Linked DNA regions of Homo sapiens: region 2 is linked to region 1. The links are contacts of gene promoters, found by promoter capture Hi-C in blood cells and fetal thymus (Javierre and others, 2016). All regions are on one chromosome and are shown on one strand. The core of a region is centred on a gene start or on the middle of the fragment in contact, and the rest is flanking DNA. Distances in the headings are between cores, read along the strand shown. Region 1 holds the start of CMAS (cytidine monophosphate N-acetylneuraminic acid synthetase). Region 2 overlaps RECQL (RecQ like helicase).

Evidence for each region. Contacts are between HindIII fragments. The CHiCAGO score rates a contact against its expected background, and 5 or more counts as called.
Region 2: a contact is called between a fragment that was not itself captured here and the fragment with the promoter of CMAS in region 1, in 4 of 17 cell types (non-activated CD4 T cells, total CD4 T cells, megakaryocytes and 1 more). The highest score is 8.8, in non-activated CD4 T cells.

What each region holds. Positions count from the first base shown.
Region 1 is chr12:22,044,235-22,051,575 of GRCh38, reverse strand. CMAS (cytidine monophosphate N-acetylneuraminic acid synthetase) reads right to left here and starts at 5,358. Exons shown (of 8, transcript NM_018686.6): 1 at 5,013-5,358. The coding sequence starts at 5,272. RefSeq lists enhancers at 2,660-3,265, 4,226-4,931, 5,247-5,541 and silencers at 5,234-5,461, 5,105-5,474. The HindIII fragment of the contact is 10,395 bases long and covers 2,969-7,341 here.
Region 2 is chr12:21,482,643-21,489,866 of GRCh38, reverse strand. RECQL (RecQ like helicase) reads left to right here. Exons shown (of 15, transcript NM_002907.4): 5 at 3,282-3,388; 6 at 6,293-6,491. Among named protein-coding and RNA genes, the nearest start is that of RECQL, 15 kb to the left of the region's middle. The HindIII fragment of the contact is 235 bases long and covers 2,593-2,827 here.

The sequences.
Region 1 (7,341 bases), core at 4,109-6,608:
AGTGAACAAACAGGCCAGTCAAGCAGAGTGAATGTCAAAGTCTAATGCCAATGGCTTTAGCCTCAAATGAAGTCACACCACATCTAACAGGACCAACAGGAATATCAACCATGGTGCCTGTGATAACTATTTTAAATCAGAAGCTGCCATTTTAGGGATAATAACAGCATAGGCCTTTCATTAATCAAAAGTCTATACCCTAAGCATAAAACTAAAACATGTTTACTTTTCCCAAGTATGTTAGGCAACACTTACAAATCAATTTGTTCTGAGGTTTACTTACACAGCACTGAACCACTGTTGAAAATTAAGCTCTTACAAAATCAACTCTGGCAATAACTTTGTACTAAAGGAAAAAAAATTATCTCAGCATTTTTCTTAACTACTAACTAGCCTAGTTAGTATGCAAAGTTAGCAACCTTGAAAAGTACTGTTAGCTTTGATTCTGAGCAGGCCAGAGAAATCTGCCTCAATTAAGTCAAATCGTGGTTTTGAACAAAATAATCTCAAAGGTATCTTCGAGCCCTGAAAAACACAAATCAGACAGCTGCAATTTTCTTCAGCTCTCTCCTAAGGTAAACATTTTTTGAAGAAACAAAAGAGAGGGTAGGAGGCAGGAAGGGTGCTCCAAAGTCCTCTTACAGCTTCATAGTAAGTCAATTGAATATAAGTCAACACATTTTAATGATCTAGTATATAAAGCATACCATGATGAATAAGAGGGTACTTGCTCATAAGAAGCTTAGCTTTTCACCTAGTATGGCAGGAGTCTCCCCAGGCCAAATTCTGCCCACTCCTCAGCCTGTTTCTGTAACATTTTATTGGAATACAGCCACACTCTTTCATTTATGTATTGTCATGGCCACCTTCACAACATACACAACAGTAGAGCTGAGTGATTGCAACAAAGACGATCTGGCTTACAAAACCTAAAATATTTACTATCTGGCCCTTTACAGAAAAAGTCTGCTGGCCACTGAAACTGAAAAAGAGAATAAAGACATCTTTCCACTAACTCTTCAAAGTCAAAGAATGTTAGCACCAGAAATAATTTTAAAGATCATTACAACTTTCCCGTTTTACAAGCAATGGGAGAGTTTCCCATTTTACAAGCATGGAAGATAGTAAAAACCTTCTAAACAAGAGGAAAATGTCAATAACAGATTACATACTATGTGCCAGGCACTATTCTAAGGGCTGCACGTACATTATCTCACTTAATTCCCTCCACAAGCCTGTGAGGCACACACTTCAGTACATTTTGTAGATGAAGAGACTGAGGCACAGAGAGGTTAAGCGATTTACCCAAGTTTGCACAGTTAACACATGGTGATGCTGGAATTCAAATCCACAGTTTGATTTCAGAGTCTGTGATCTTATCTCCCTGCATAGGGCATGCACTAAATGAAGGTACAAACGACGTAGCTATGTATGGGAAAACAAAGGCACAATTACTTTTCACTGAGGGGATCAGTAAAGGCTTCATGGAGGAAGAAGTGCTGGTCCCTTCTATTACCTTTTGACCTAATCTCTCCAGATGCCTGGAAAGGATGACAAATAGCACATAGCCACAAAACTTGAACAGAGTAAATTCACATTGTTACATGATACTGTTAAGTTAGAAATACATTCATTTTGCTAGTTTAGAAAAAAAATTTTTTTTTTTTTTTTGAGACAGAGTCTTGCTCTGTTGCCCAGGCTAGAGTGCAGTGGTCCAGTCTCGGCTCACTGCAACCTCCACCTCCCGGGTTCAGGTGATTCCCCTGCCTCAGCCTCCTGAGTAGCTGGGATTACAGGCATGCACCACCACAACTGGCTAATTTTTGTATTTTTGGTAGAGATGGGGTTTCGCCATGTTGGCCAGGCTGGTCTTCAACTCCTGGCCTCCGCCTGCCTTCGGCCTCCTAAAGTGCTGGGATTACAAGTGTGAGCCCAGCCAATTTTATTTCTTCTAATCGCCACCATTGATATAGTGACAGATACCACAGGTGGCTTGAAGAAGTATAAAACATTATCCCTGTGGTCAATGAGTTTACACTCTAGTCTAGAAGTATTAAATAAAACTACTTGGTACAGAAAAGGTTGATACTAGAGTCTTTTTTTAAAAGAAGTTTTGTACAAATGCTAAAATGTGGAAATGGGAAAATCATTGGTCAATATATATACATATTTTCCAATCATTTCATAGCAAAATCCCCAATGCCTGCTGTAATGGTTGGTTGTTGGGTTCTGACCAACAGAATCTATTCCCCCTCACTTTTGGTAATTGTACTCCAATTTTCCTCTTGATGAACCTGTCATGTTTTTCAGCGGGGGCTCCATCGCTGGTTTCAAGAGTGGAAGATGAAGCTATACTGTAGCAATACAAGCACTATGTTCCTCTTGCCATAGTGACTGGTTGAAGAATGAGCAGGGTACCCAATGAGGCACAATGAAACTTCGAGCTTCGAGGAGAGCACTCCTTCTGACTTACATTTAAACCTGTAAGAATATGAGGACTGCTATCAAAGACACACAAAATCGGTGACTAAAGTGTTAAGGACAGATTGTATTCTGTTACTACTGCAACAGGGAAAAGAGTCCAATGTGAATTGCATTCACAGCCCCAGAAAACGAAAGGCTGGAGACTTTAAAGGCTGAGTTGTGCTAAGGGAAAGGCACTGAGGGGTGCTAACAGGGCTTAGTCCGTGTGACTAGGCCATATGGATTTGTTAACTAGCGCTTATCTGGAAGAGAAACAATCTTCTATCCTTATGAGACAAGGCAACTGAGCAAGTTGAAGCAAGGTGTCCACTGAACTTTGCCCTTTATCTTCCCAGAGGGACTAGGAAGGAGAGTAAGAGTTATTTCCTAGAATGTTCGCATTTCACTGAGACAGGGTTCTGGGGCTCCCAGGTCCTTGAGGAAACAGTTTTGTGTGGTAGATTTACATCTCAAAAGGCAGGGAAAGTTTTTATAATTGCAAGCTTTCTAAACTAATTGCTCTAAAAGAGGGTTCAGGGGCCTCTCACCAGGTTTTTCCTGGAACAATCAGGAAATTCTGGCAGCTTTGAGCCTCTTCAGGAAGCCATTTTAAGGGAACCTGAGATCATCCTAGGGACATGGCCTTAAGCTGCTAGAAGCCATGCTAGGGCTTGGTCAAGTCTCTTGGAGCAGAGGTTTGGAGCAAGTCATTAGGTACCCTGAGAGTTCTGCAGTTCTCAGTACAACCACCTTGAAACCATAAAGGGTCTATCCAGAGCTAAGAAATTGAGGATTCTGGCAACAAAGTGCACCATCCTCTTATCCTGCTTTACTTTTTCTTAAAAATATTTATCATAACGTGATACAACACACATTAATGTTCTTGTATACTGCATGTCTTTCCTTATTATAACGTAAGCTCTATGAGACTAAGGGCTGTCTCTACTGCTACTACACGTGGTTCGGTACATACAACAGTGCCTGTTACATAGTAGGTAGGCAGTAAGTATGCTGAATGAATGAATCATTTTTTTGTCCTTGAATCTGACTGTACCTTAATAAGCCTTTCCCTCTTTTGTTATGCCAGTTTGAACAGGGTTTCCTGATATATACAACCTAAGAGTTGTAAATGGTATTAACAGTTTTGTTCTCCATTTACTGTGAATATGATTTTGATCTCTAGTTCATTTCACAAAAATGATATTTCACTATATTACTGCAGTCTGGATGCACCTACTTCTCTCAGTCCTTTTTAGTTTGTACCCTTTCTAAGAATGTAAAAATATCCCAAAGTTTGTGAGCTTCACAAGGACAAAAACTGTGTCCCAATCATCTTGGTATTCCCTTGGACATGTATAGCAGAAATTAGGGCTCAGTAAATAGCTACTGAATTGAACAAAATCCCCAGGTCCTTCCCTATCTCTCCTTCGCACACTTCCTATTGCACTAGTGTTATCTTCTGAGTGGTGGCTCCTATTTGCCTTGGTCCATCCAGGACTTCTTTTGGGTTGAAACATTAAGAAAATTAGTATATTTATACTTTTTTGGCATCTCCCGTTTTTGAACAAGACTGGTTAAATGAAAATCATTTACCCATATATTAATATGGGTAAGCAAATATAGGTTCAAAAAGAAAAAGAGATGACTTCAAAAACAGTCATCTCTTTAAAAATCGAAACATCAAAAGGTTAACATAAATTAATTTCCACAATAACAACACATTCAAATGTAGTTAGGTTGAAGCTATATGTGTAAATTCATTCTTGGCACAGAATTCGATCTCCCTTCTTTTATGAATAACATCAGCTTGTAACTCCTGACCAATTTGGCAATGTATCTAAATTACGCATAATTAAAACTGTCCATAGGGCAGGCGAGGTTCCAAAGGTATGATTAAATGATTTGTAAGTATTAATATATCATAAAACAGTCAGTTGTACACCTTCCCACTGAGTCTCACGTATTTATAAATGTAGGGAGTTTTCTAGATTGTGCTGACTCACAGGAAGATAGCTGGAGTATTTTTCAAAGGTTAGGAAAAGATCTCCAAGCTGAGCTTGAAATTCAGCTCTGACACCCCGACACTCAACTCCATTCATGAACCTGATGCCTCCCTAATCGAGCAGCACCAAGCAGTTATCAGAGGCTGAGCAACAGGGGAGCTTCGATGGCCCCCATCCAAAGAAGTTCACATATTATCACAGATGTTGCACCGGGGTGGCCTCCTTTACTTTTCCCCGTAAGGTCAACCCGGGAGGAGGGGACGGTTGGGGAGGTGTAATCTCCCCTTTTACGGATGATTCTCAAGGGCGGAGACAGGAACTGTCCCAGGTTATGACCATTGGCAGCTACGGAACAAGGAAGGAGCTGGAGCCCTTCCTCCTGGGCTCTCAGCCCGGCCCCAGGCACCCCGGATCTTGCACATCCCTGGCATGAGAGATGGCCCCCTTCCAAGAGCGGTGGCCCCGGAGGCCCCAGCCCCTCCAGCAGCCCGACTCCCTCTCCCGACCCCCGCCCAGGCCGCGCCGCCCACTCTCGCACATGCGCACCTCTGGAAGGCCCCTGAATCCAGGGCCGCACGCAGGACCCAGCCAATGAGCGGGACCCCCGCCAGGTGCTTAATGTTCTTCAGGGGGATGCCTTTGCTGCCTCCCCGGGCCAGAATTAGGGCTGCCAGGTGCGGGGGCTTCTCCACACCTCGGCCCTGGCCGCCGCGAGAGTTGCGCTGCAGCTTCGGCGGCCGGCCCCGGGACGGTCGCCCCCGCGGGTTGGAGACGGAGGTGGCGGCCCCCTTCTCCACCGAGTCCATCTTCCTCCCACGCCTTCTCCCCAGCTTCTCCACATCCGGGAGCTAGTCCCTCACCACCTCAGCTCGGCGCCGCCCGATCCCCGCCTGGCAGCTGGCGCGCGCGGCCGTCCCTCGCCCCGCCCCCTCCCCCGCCCCTCGCGGTGCTCGCTGGGAATTGTAGTCCGCGGCCGCCTCGTCTGGGGCCAGTAGGCCAAGTAGGCTCTGATGAGGTGACCCCAAAACTAAGTCAAGCAGTGGGAGTCCAGAGATATTTGGAGGAAGTGCGGCTTTTGGGGTGCTTGCAAGTGTCTGTAAATTTCTAAAATTAAAAAAGAAAAAAAGTATTTATAATTGCTGAAGAACTTCCCCACTTTAGAATTGTGGTGGGTTTCCCGTTGCATACCTTGATGCACCCTGACACGAATCCATTTTATATTTTAAAATGTACATTTTAAACATACACCTTTTTTTAATGCCCCTGGGTCATTTTTTCCAAGAAATTACTGACCAGCTCATTCAAATATCCTACAGGCGCCTTAAACTCAACGTTTTAAAAACTCCATTTTTCATATGCTCTCCGCACTTTGATCGACATCAGCATTCCCTAGCAGCAGAAATTTGGAAGTCAGCTTTACTGGTCACCTCTAGTGTGGCCGACACTTGGTTTTTTGGTTTTGTTTTGTTGTCTGCTAAAAATCTTTTCCTTTTAGGAATTGATCCCTCTCTCATCCGGTGAGGGTTTCCCTCACATTCTCTGCACTGTGTGTGACCCAAGCTGGTCCATCTACGCACCCCATTTTCCTTAACACACCTGTGGTCTAGGGACAGGCATATGACCAAGCAGAGCCCACTGGAGTCCTTTCCAGAGAGTCTTGGAAAGAAAGGATCTTTCTCGTGCTGACTGGGTGCTAAGGACCTTGTTAACCTGAAGCCTCAGGGCAAGGGTAGGGTAGGGCGGCAGGGGGGCTTTGCTGTTCTGAAATGGGCTGGAAGACTGATGTTCTCCCTGAGGAAGCAGAACAATGACATGTAGGGATTAAAGAGAAAGAATTCTGGAGGCATCATTTAAACTCTTTTTTTTTTTTGAGACAGATTCTCACTGTGTCCCCCAGAAGGCTGGAGTGCAGTGGCACAATCTCGGCTCGCTGCAACCCTCTGCCACCCATTCTCAAGCGTCCTGAGTAGCTGGGATTACAGAGGGGCACCACCACACCCAGATAATTTTTGTATTTTTAGTTGAGTTGGGGGTTTCACCAGGTTGGCCAGGCTGGTCTTGAACTCCTGACCTCAAGTGATCTGCCCGCCTCAGCCTCTCAAAGTGCTGGGATTATAGGCATGAGCCGCCACGCCTGAGCATTTAAACCCTGATCCAGCCAAGAGGCTCAAAGACATACACCCACACACACCTCTCTTAGGAAAAAAAAAAAAAGAGACTTTAAAGCAGGCATCTCTGACCTAGCATGCATTTTGTCTTTCAGCATGTTTGCAAGCCTATATTTGGAAGTAGAGTCTTTTACATTTCTGAGATGGAGGCTGATACAAACAGAAAGAATGGATTGTAGTGTGTCGGCTTGCCTTCTCCCAGAGGGCAAAAGGATTTTGTACTTCTCAGGTCTTGGCCATTTTTGAGGGGAGAGAAGAAGTCTTTGATGTTTTGGGTCCTATGAGAGGTACTGGATACTTTACATCTCTTAGTCTGTGAATTAACTGAGGGCCCAGCCCTTCCTGGGACTGGTGCTGGAAGAAGGTGCTTCGTGCAGACACAGATAAGGGAGGCTGTGAGCAGACATCAATGCCATGCTTGGGAAAGGGGCAGGCTCTATGAGCCATTCCAGCACTGAAGGGCAAGGGGACAACTTGCCCCCATACACTGGCTCTTTGAGTAGGGCCTTTGCAGTTGCTGTGCCTCAGAGACACCAGCACTGAGCTTTTGGTAGTCATGTGAGGACCCCTACTACACCCCAATAACAATCTTGATTCCTATTAATGATTTAGTTGCCCTTCTCCACAGTAATTCCCTACAGGCCCATAAATCCTAGTGGACCACAGACACCTGAGTAGTTTTGACTCCTGGGGCATATTGGTGTCCT
Region 2 (7,224 bases), core at 1,461-3,960, 560 kb after region 1:
GGAGTTTTAAAAACTTCTGAGATTAATCCTTTTATCTGGTTCCTGAAACATAAATTTAAAAACATATTGTACTGAACATTCAAAATCCTCTCTTCTAGCTTTTCGAAACCCTATCTAAATTATTGTTAACCATATTCACCCTACAGTGCTATAGAACACTTGAACAGAAGATACAAGGGGCAAAAAAACCCAAAAATGTTGTAGGAGAAGCAGCTCTGGAAGAAGAATCAGTAGACCTGAATTCTAGTCCCAGATCTTTACTGAGTGTCTGCCATGGTGCTAGGCACTGGGAGACACAGTAGTGAGCAAAATGGGCGTGGTCTTAGTTTTCACAGAACTCATAGTGTAGAGTAGCACTTTCTCAGACTTTAGTGTACATAAGAATCACCTGAGAATTTGATTATGTGCAGATTCTGATTTTATGTGAGACCAAAGATCCTGCATTTCTAACAAGTTCGCTAGTGCTACTGATATTACTGATTGGGTAGTAGCAAGGGATCAGCAAGCTTTTTCTTGAAAGGGTAGATAGTAAATAATATAGGCTTGTGGTCCATATGGTCTCCTTGGCAGCTCTTCAACCCTGCCATTGTAGCACAAAAGCAGCCACAGATAATGTGTAAACACATGGGTGTAGCTGTGTTCCATTAAAATAACTTACAAAAATAGGCAACCAGCCCTTACTTTGTTGATCCCTGGTTTAGAGAATACAGGTAATTGCAAGCAATTGCAATAAGAATTTTGGGATAAAGGTTTTAATAGGGAATTAAGTCTGTACAAAGATCTGGTCTAGGGGCTGTCAGGGAAAGCTGTTCTGAGGAAGTGGCATTTAAGCTAAAGTTTAAAGGGTGAGTAGGCAGAAGGGACAGGGAAGGAAGAGTGTTCATTCAGAAAAGCAATACTTGAGATCCAAAAGCAAGAGAGAACATTCACATTATGATGTATTCAGTAACCTGGAGGAATTTCTATGTGGCAGTCAGTGGTAAGACATGTGGAAAGAGTCTTATTTTTAAAACTTTTCCTTATTTTAGCAAGAAGCCATTGAAGAGTTTTACACAGGTAAGAGACTCATTATTTCATGGTTTAGAAGGATAATTCTAGCAGTTAGATGAATTCCAGATACATCTGGAAGATAGATTCAATGGGACTTGGTATTTATTGCTTGGGGGGAAAGGAGAAAGAAGAGTCAAGAATGATACTCAAATTTTAGGCTTGGACAAGTGGTGAGGTTCTTCACTGAAATGGGGTACATTGGCGAAAGAACTCTTGGGAATGGAGAGGGGAAAGATGATGAATTTATTTGGGACATGTTGAATTTACGATGCCTTTAAGACATCCAGGTGGAATTGTCCTATGAGTAGGAGGATGTTTGTGTCTAAAGCCTGGTGTTAGAGGTCTGAGTTGGGGGTTGTTAGTGTGGAGATGGCCACTGAAGCCATTGGAATGAATTTCAGAGCAGCATAAGAAGAAAAGAAGGCCTAGAACAGAAACCAGAACACCAAGAGTTTAGGGATAAACAGAGAAAAAGGGCTTGCAGACAAGGCTGAGAAAGAGTAGCAACATATAGGATAACCAGGATTGTATGATGTTATTAGAAGGCTAGGGAAGGGTGTGTTTGAATGAGGGAGTAGTTAATAGTGATGTCTGTTAGCAAAATGTCAAATACGTAAGGATGTAAGTTTCAATGAGTTTAATGACAAAGGACTCATCTATGACCTTAGCTAGAGCAATTTTATTGAAATGGTTGGGTGGAGACCAAATAGCAATGGTTTGAAGCAGGTAGGAATTGAGGAAGTGGAACTGGTGAGTATGGGATTCTCTTTGGAAAAGAATGACTATGAAGGGAAGAAGAGAGTGGGCCATAAATGAGATGTTATCTTAGTCTATTCCAGCTGCTGTAACAGAATACTTTATATCAGTTAATTAACAAACAACAGAAGTTTACTGCTTGCAGTTCTGGAGGCTGGGAAGTCCAAGATCAAGATGCTAATAGATTTCGGTGTCTAGAGAGGGGGTGTTTCTCATAGATGGCACCTTCTTGCTACACCCTCACATGGCGGCAAAGAAAGGGCACTCCCTTCAACTTTTTGTAAAATGGCATTAATCCCACTTATGAAAGCAGAGCCCTCATTACTTAATCACTTCTGTGGGGATACCAACTTTCAGACCATAGTGGGTGTTTTCCAAGATGAGAGGGACTTGACCATGTTTAAATGTAATGAGTAGGTGCTAGTAAGGAAAAGTGAAAATAATAGGAGAGAGAATAATTGACTGGGAAAAATCCCTAATAAGGTCTTAATTTGATTATGTTTTTTAAACATGTCTGCTCTTTGCCAAAGGTTGTTTTAAGAAACAAACTACAGAAACGTAAAGCCATATATAATTTTAACTGTAGAATAGCTTTTGTACTTTAAACAGTTTCAATTATAAGGAAGGGGGCATATTACTATAACTTCATTCAGACAGTAAACTGTTCACTGATTTCTACTCAGCATAAATGAATCTCGTACAAAAAGTAAAAGAATGCTTATGCAACTATCATGTTTAATTATACACACTACTGTATAATTAAAAATCTGGTTTTTTTGGAAAGCTTTATAGTGATTTTTCCCTGATGAAACTGTTTAGTGTTTGAACTGATATATGTTGTCTTACTGAAATTACCAATAGTGATTATTTAAAACGATAGCAAATTAAACATTTGAAATGATAAAAATCTGTCTTTATTTTTATAAGGATAGAGTTCTGTTTAGTTGTATGTTTATTTGGCTTCTACTTACCTTGTTTGGTCATTTATTCATATCTAATTAATGAGAGTAAGAAGTAAGCTTTACTAAAGCTGCATTAAAAATTAATCTGAATTGATGGCCAGTGCCCACAAGTTAAGAAGGTGAATGGGCCGGGCGTGGTAGCTCATGCCTGTAATCCTAGCACTTTGGGAGGCCAAGGTGGGCAGATTGCCTGAGCTCAGGAGTTTGAGACCAGCCTGGGCAACACAGTGAAACCCTGTCCCTACTAAAATACAAAAGAAATTAGCCAGGCATGGCAGCAGGTGCCTGTAGTCCCAGCTACTCGGGAGGCTGAGGCAGGAGAATTGCTTGAACCCGGGAGGCAGAGGTTGCAATGAGCCAACATCGCACCACTGCACTCTAGCCTGGGCAAGAGAGTGAGACTCCATCTCTAAAAAAAAAAAAAAAAAAAAAAAAAAAAAACGTGAATGGTTTGCATCTGATTCTGAGGGTGGTGTAAAGTTTAAGGTAGATTTTTTTTTTTTTCTCTTTTAGGTTTTACACTCGTCATTTGCCCATTGATCTCTCTTATGGAAGACCAATTAATGGTTTTAAAACAATTAGGAATTTCAGCAACCATGTTAAATGCTTCTAGTTCTAAGGTATGTTTCAGTGGCTTTTTTTTTTTTAATGTAAACTATTCACTGAAATAGGAGCTTTACCTGCAGTTGAGTTGCTTATAAAATTATAAACTGTTAACTATTTATATCAGGAGTTACAAACTACTGCTCTTGGCCAGTTCTGGCCCACTGTCTATTTTTGTATGTCCCATGAGTTAAGAATGGTTTTTATATTTTTAAATGGCTAAAAAAAATCTAAAAAGAATATTTTGTGAAATGGGAAAATTATTTGCAATTCAAGTTTCAGTATCCATAAATAAAGTTTTATTGAAACACCACCATGCTCATTTGTTGACATGTTGTCTATGGCTGCTTTTACAGTATAATGGCACAGTGGAGTAGTTGTGATAGAGACCTTATAGCCCATAAAACCTAATATTTTTGTCTGATACTTTACAGGAAACATTTGCTGACCTGTTTTGTATTATCCATTCTAAAATAGTAAGGGAGAATTGCTAATTATGCAGTGTAATTAAATATGAAATATGAATTATTAAGAAGTTACCCTATACCTGTGGAATTTCTTGTATTTAGGAATGGACTGTCTTACCCTCATCTGTAGAATAAAGCATTTCCCAGCTATTCTTTTTTAAAAAGCATATTACTGAAATCTTCAAAAGGAGAGAGAATAGCATAAAAACTGCCATGTAGCCATTTCCCCCTTCAACAGTTATCAACATACGGCTAATCTTTTTTTTTAATCTGTATACCTCCAGTTTTCCCTACCCCTTTCCTCTTAGTTTATTTATTCAGAACAAATTCCAGACATCATATTTTAATTGTAAATTCTTCAGTACGTATCTCTAACTTTAAAGAAAAGTGCTGTGCCATCATCACATCTAAGAAGTTTAATCAATTCTTTAGAATTATAAAAAAAATTCAGATTTCTATCTCATTTTTATGTTTTTTTTAAAAAAAAATATAGCCCAGATAATATTCATGCATTGTATTGTATTTGGTTGATATACCCATAGGTTCTCTTTATATCTTTTATATTTCCCATGCAAATTCTTTGTTGAAGAAACTGGGTTAACTGTCCTGTATCTTTCTACATTTTCCTGATTGCGTCCTTGTGGTGTTCTTTCTTTCTCTCTTTCTTTTCTTTTCTTTCTTTTTCTTTTTTTTTTTTTCAGTTCTGGGGTCCATATGCAGGATGTGCAGGTTTGTTACATAGGTAACTGGATCCTTTTAGTTAGATCTAAAAGCCTGATTGTATTTGGAATTTTTCTTTAACTTTTTTTTTTTTTTTTGCAAGAGTATACTTACTGTGGTATCACTCAAGTGGTACATAGTACCTGGTTATCTTTTTGTGATGCTAAGCGTCAGTGGGTTCAAGTGATGTCTGCCTGATCTCTGGTTATCAGTTTTTCATCTAATGGTTTTAGCAGCCACTGAGTGGCACCGTGAGAGCCATGATTTCATTAGGGAGGTGCAAAATGGTGATATCTAATTCTGTCACTCTTTCTTCATGTATTAGTTATACTTTTTCTACAAAAATAAACTTTTTCCTCATTAACTCTGCATGATGAAAATGCTTGATTTTTTTTTCCCTTTCTTTATGAGTTTTCAGAAAGAGTTGGTTTTCTAGCATTCTCCAAAGGTGGTCAACAAGATTTTTAAGGTTTTCTTTCCCCAAGTATCACTATAAACTTACAAGCTTTGACGTATAATATGATTCACCTTTGGAATCATATATATATATATATCAATATGTATATATGTAATGCTGAAATAGTCCTGTCCTTGGGCAGTGAGAGCCTCTTTAAGTTGGTTCCTGAATCCTTTCTCTTAACCCCATTGCTTCTGTTCCTTGCTTTCTTTTGCAGTAAGATAATCCATGTTCATTTTATGCATTTCCTGCCCAGACCTAGAGTCAGCCATACCTCTAAGAAGCCCTGGTTCCTTTAGTTTACCCATATATTTTTGTTTTATTTAAACTCCATGTCATTCTATTATAACTGCTCCTTCCTCCAACAAAATCAATCTGTGGAGAAAACTGCCTTCTAATAATGTACTTTCTTAAAATTGAAAAAGAACATAATAGTAATAGAAAGTAATTTAGAAAGTTGCAGATAATTACAAGTTCATGATATATCCCTACTCTTGAAAGTTGGAGAGAGAAAAAAAGAACATCTGTATCCTAGAATATATCTAGGAGTTAACAAACTGCTTCTTTGCTGGGATGATGAAAGTAGTTTGACTGTCTCTTTCTATCTCATTCACTGGCATGTTTTTATACTTTTTTGGTCCTCTTTAGATTAGAAGGAAAAAAAATGACATCTAATATGCTAAGTATTGTATAGAATTGTATGAGTACTAAGAATCTAATAACTGTTACCTTTTAAGATTTATTATTATTATCTTAATTTAATGAGTGATACTTTGTGAAACCCCATGGTCTTTATATTTAAATAAAGAGATTAAAAGATTTGATGGTATCATTTGAGAAGTTAATAAATAATAAATTTTGTTCACATACATAAAGGGATTATAAATATAATGTTAAAATTAATAAAACCCACCTTTATAACCATAACAATTGCATCTAGCTCACATTTTAGAATATATTATGAACAATTTAGGATTATGCCTTCATAGAATAAATGCTCTTCATTGGAGTATCTGTTTGTGTTCTTTTTTGTCAAGTGAGTTTTTTTTAGTCATCAACAATGTAGACGTTAGTAAATAACTAGAATGCTATTTACACAGCTGCCATGATGTTTCGTACTGAGACATGGTTTCAGTTTTAATGAACTAAACATCTGCTCCTAGAAGAGCCAAAGGCTATTATTGCTTTGGAGAAATGAACGTTTTCATTTACCACCTAGTATTTCAGTCTGCTAGCTTAGTTTTACTATCATTGTGTCTATTTTTTTCTTTTAATAGGAGCATGTTAAATGGGTTCATGCTGAAATGGTAAATAAAAACTCCGAGTTAAAGCTGATTTATGTGACTCCAGAGAAAATTGCAAAAAGCAAAATGTTTATGTCAAGACTAGAGAAAGCCTATGAAGCAAGGAGATTTACTCGAATTGCTGTGGATGAAGTTCACTGCTGTAGTCAGTGGGGACATGATTTCAGACCTGGTATGTATGTTTTATCTAGAAAACTTTTTGATGTCATAGACCGTGTCCTTACTCAGCTTGGCATGATGGAAATCTCTGCTTCTATTAAAATCATCCTCAAGTAGTTACACATTGAATATCCGTTATCCAGAATGTTCGGAACCAAAAGGGTTTTAAATTTTGGATTTTTTTGGATTTGGGATGATCAACCTGTATTACTTATTTTATCTTGCCTCATTATGAGGAGGACTGAGAGGCAGAATGTTTAGTTTCATTCCCCACTGTAGTCTGTAGTTTAATTGCCCTTGTCAATTATGGACAAATATGGACACATATGTTTACTAGCCAATAGTGGACATCTTTGTGGCATTTATGACATCTAGGTATTCCTTCACATTTGTTGAAGAATTTGCATCTGTTTCAAAGTTGTCATCTTTAGTCATCATTCTGAGGGTCTTTTCAGCACCCACATACAACTCCTCAGCATGAAACTTTGATGAGATATTTTTAGTGACCTTTTTCTTCACCCCACCACCTAATCCTACAGTCATAGCCTAAAGTAAGTTACTCAGAATTGTTATATGCAAAAAAATCTTAAATTCAAAAATCCGACTCCCTGGCTTCAACCTGTTTTCCTTCTGAAGCTTTTCACACATTAGGATTTGCTGGATCCCTCTTTTAATCCCTGCTTATTTATCCAGGCTCCTGTCCCTACATAGCAATCACTCTGTTTCCCGTCCAGACACTGTGCTGT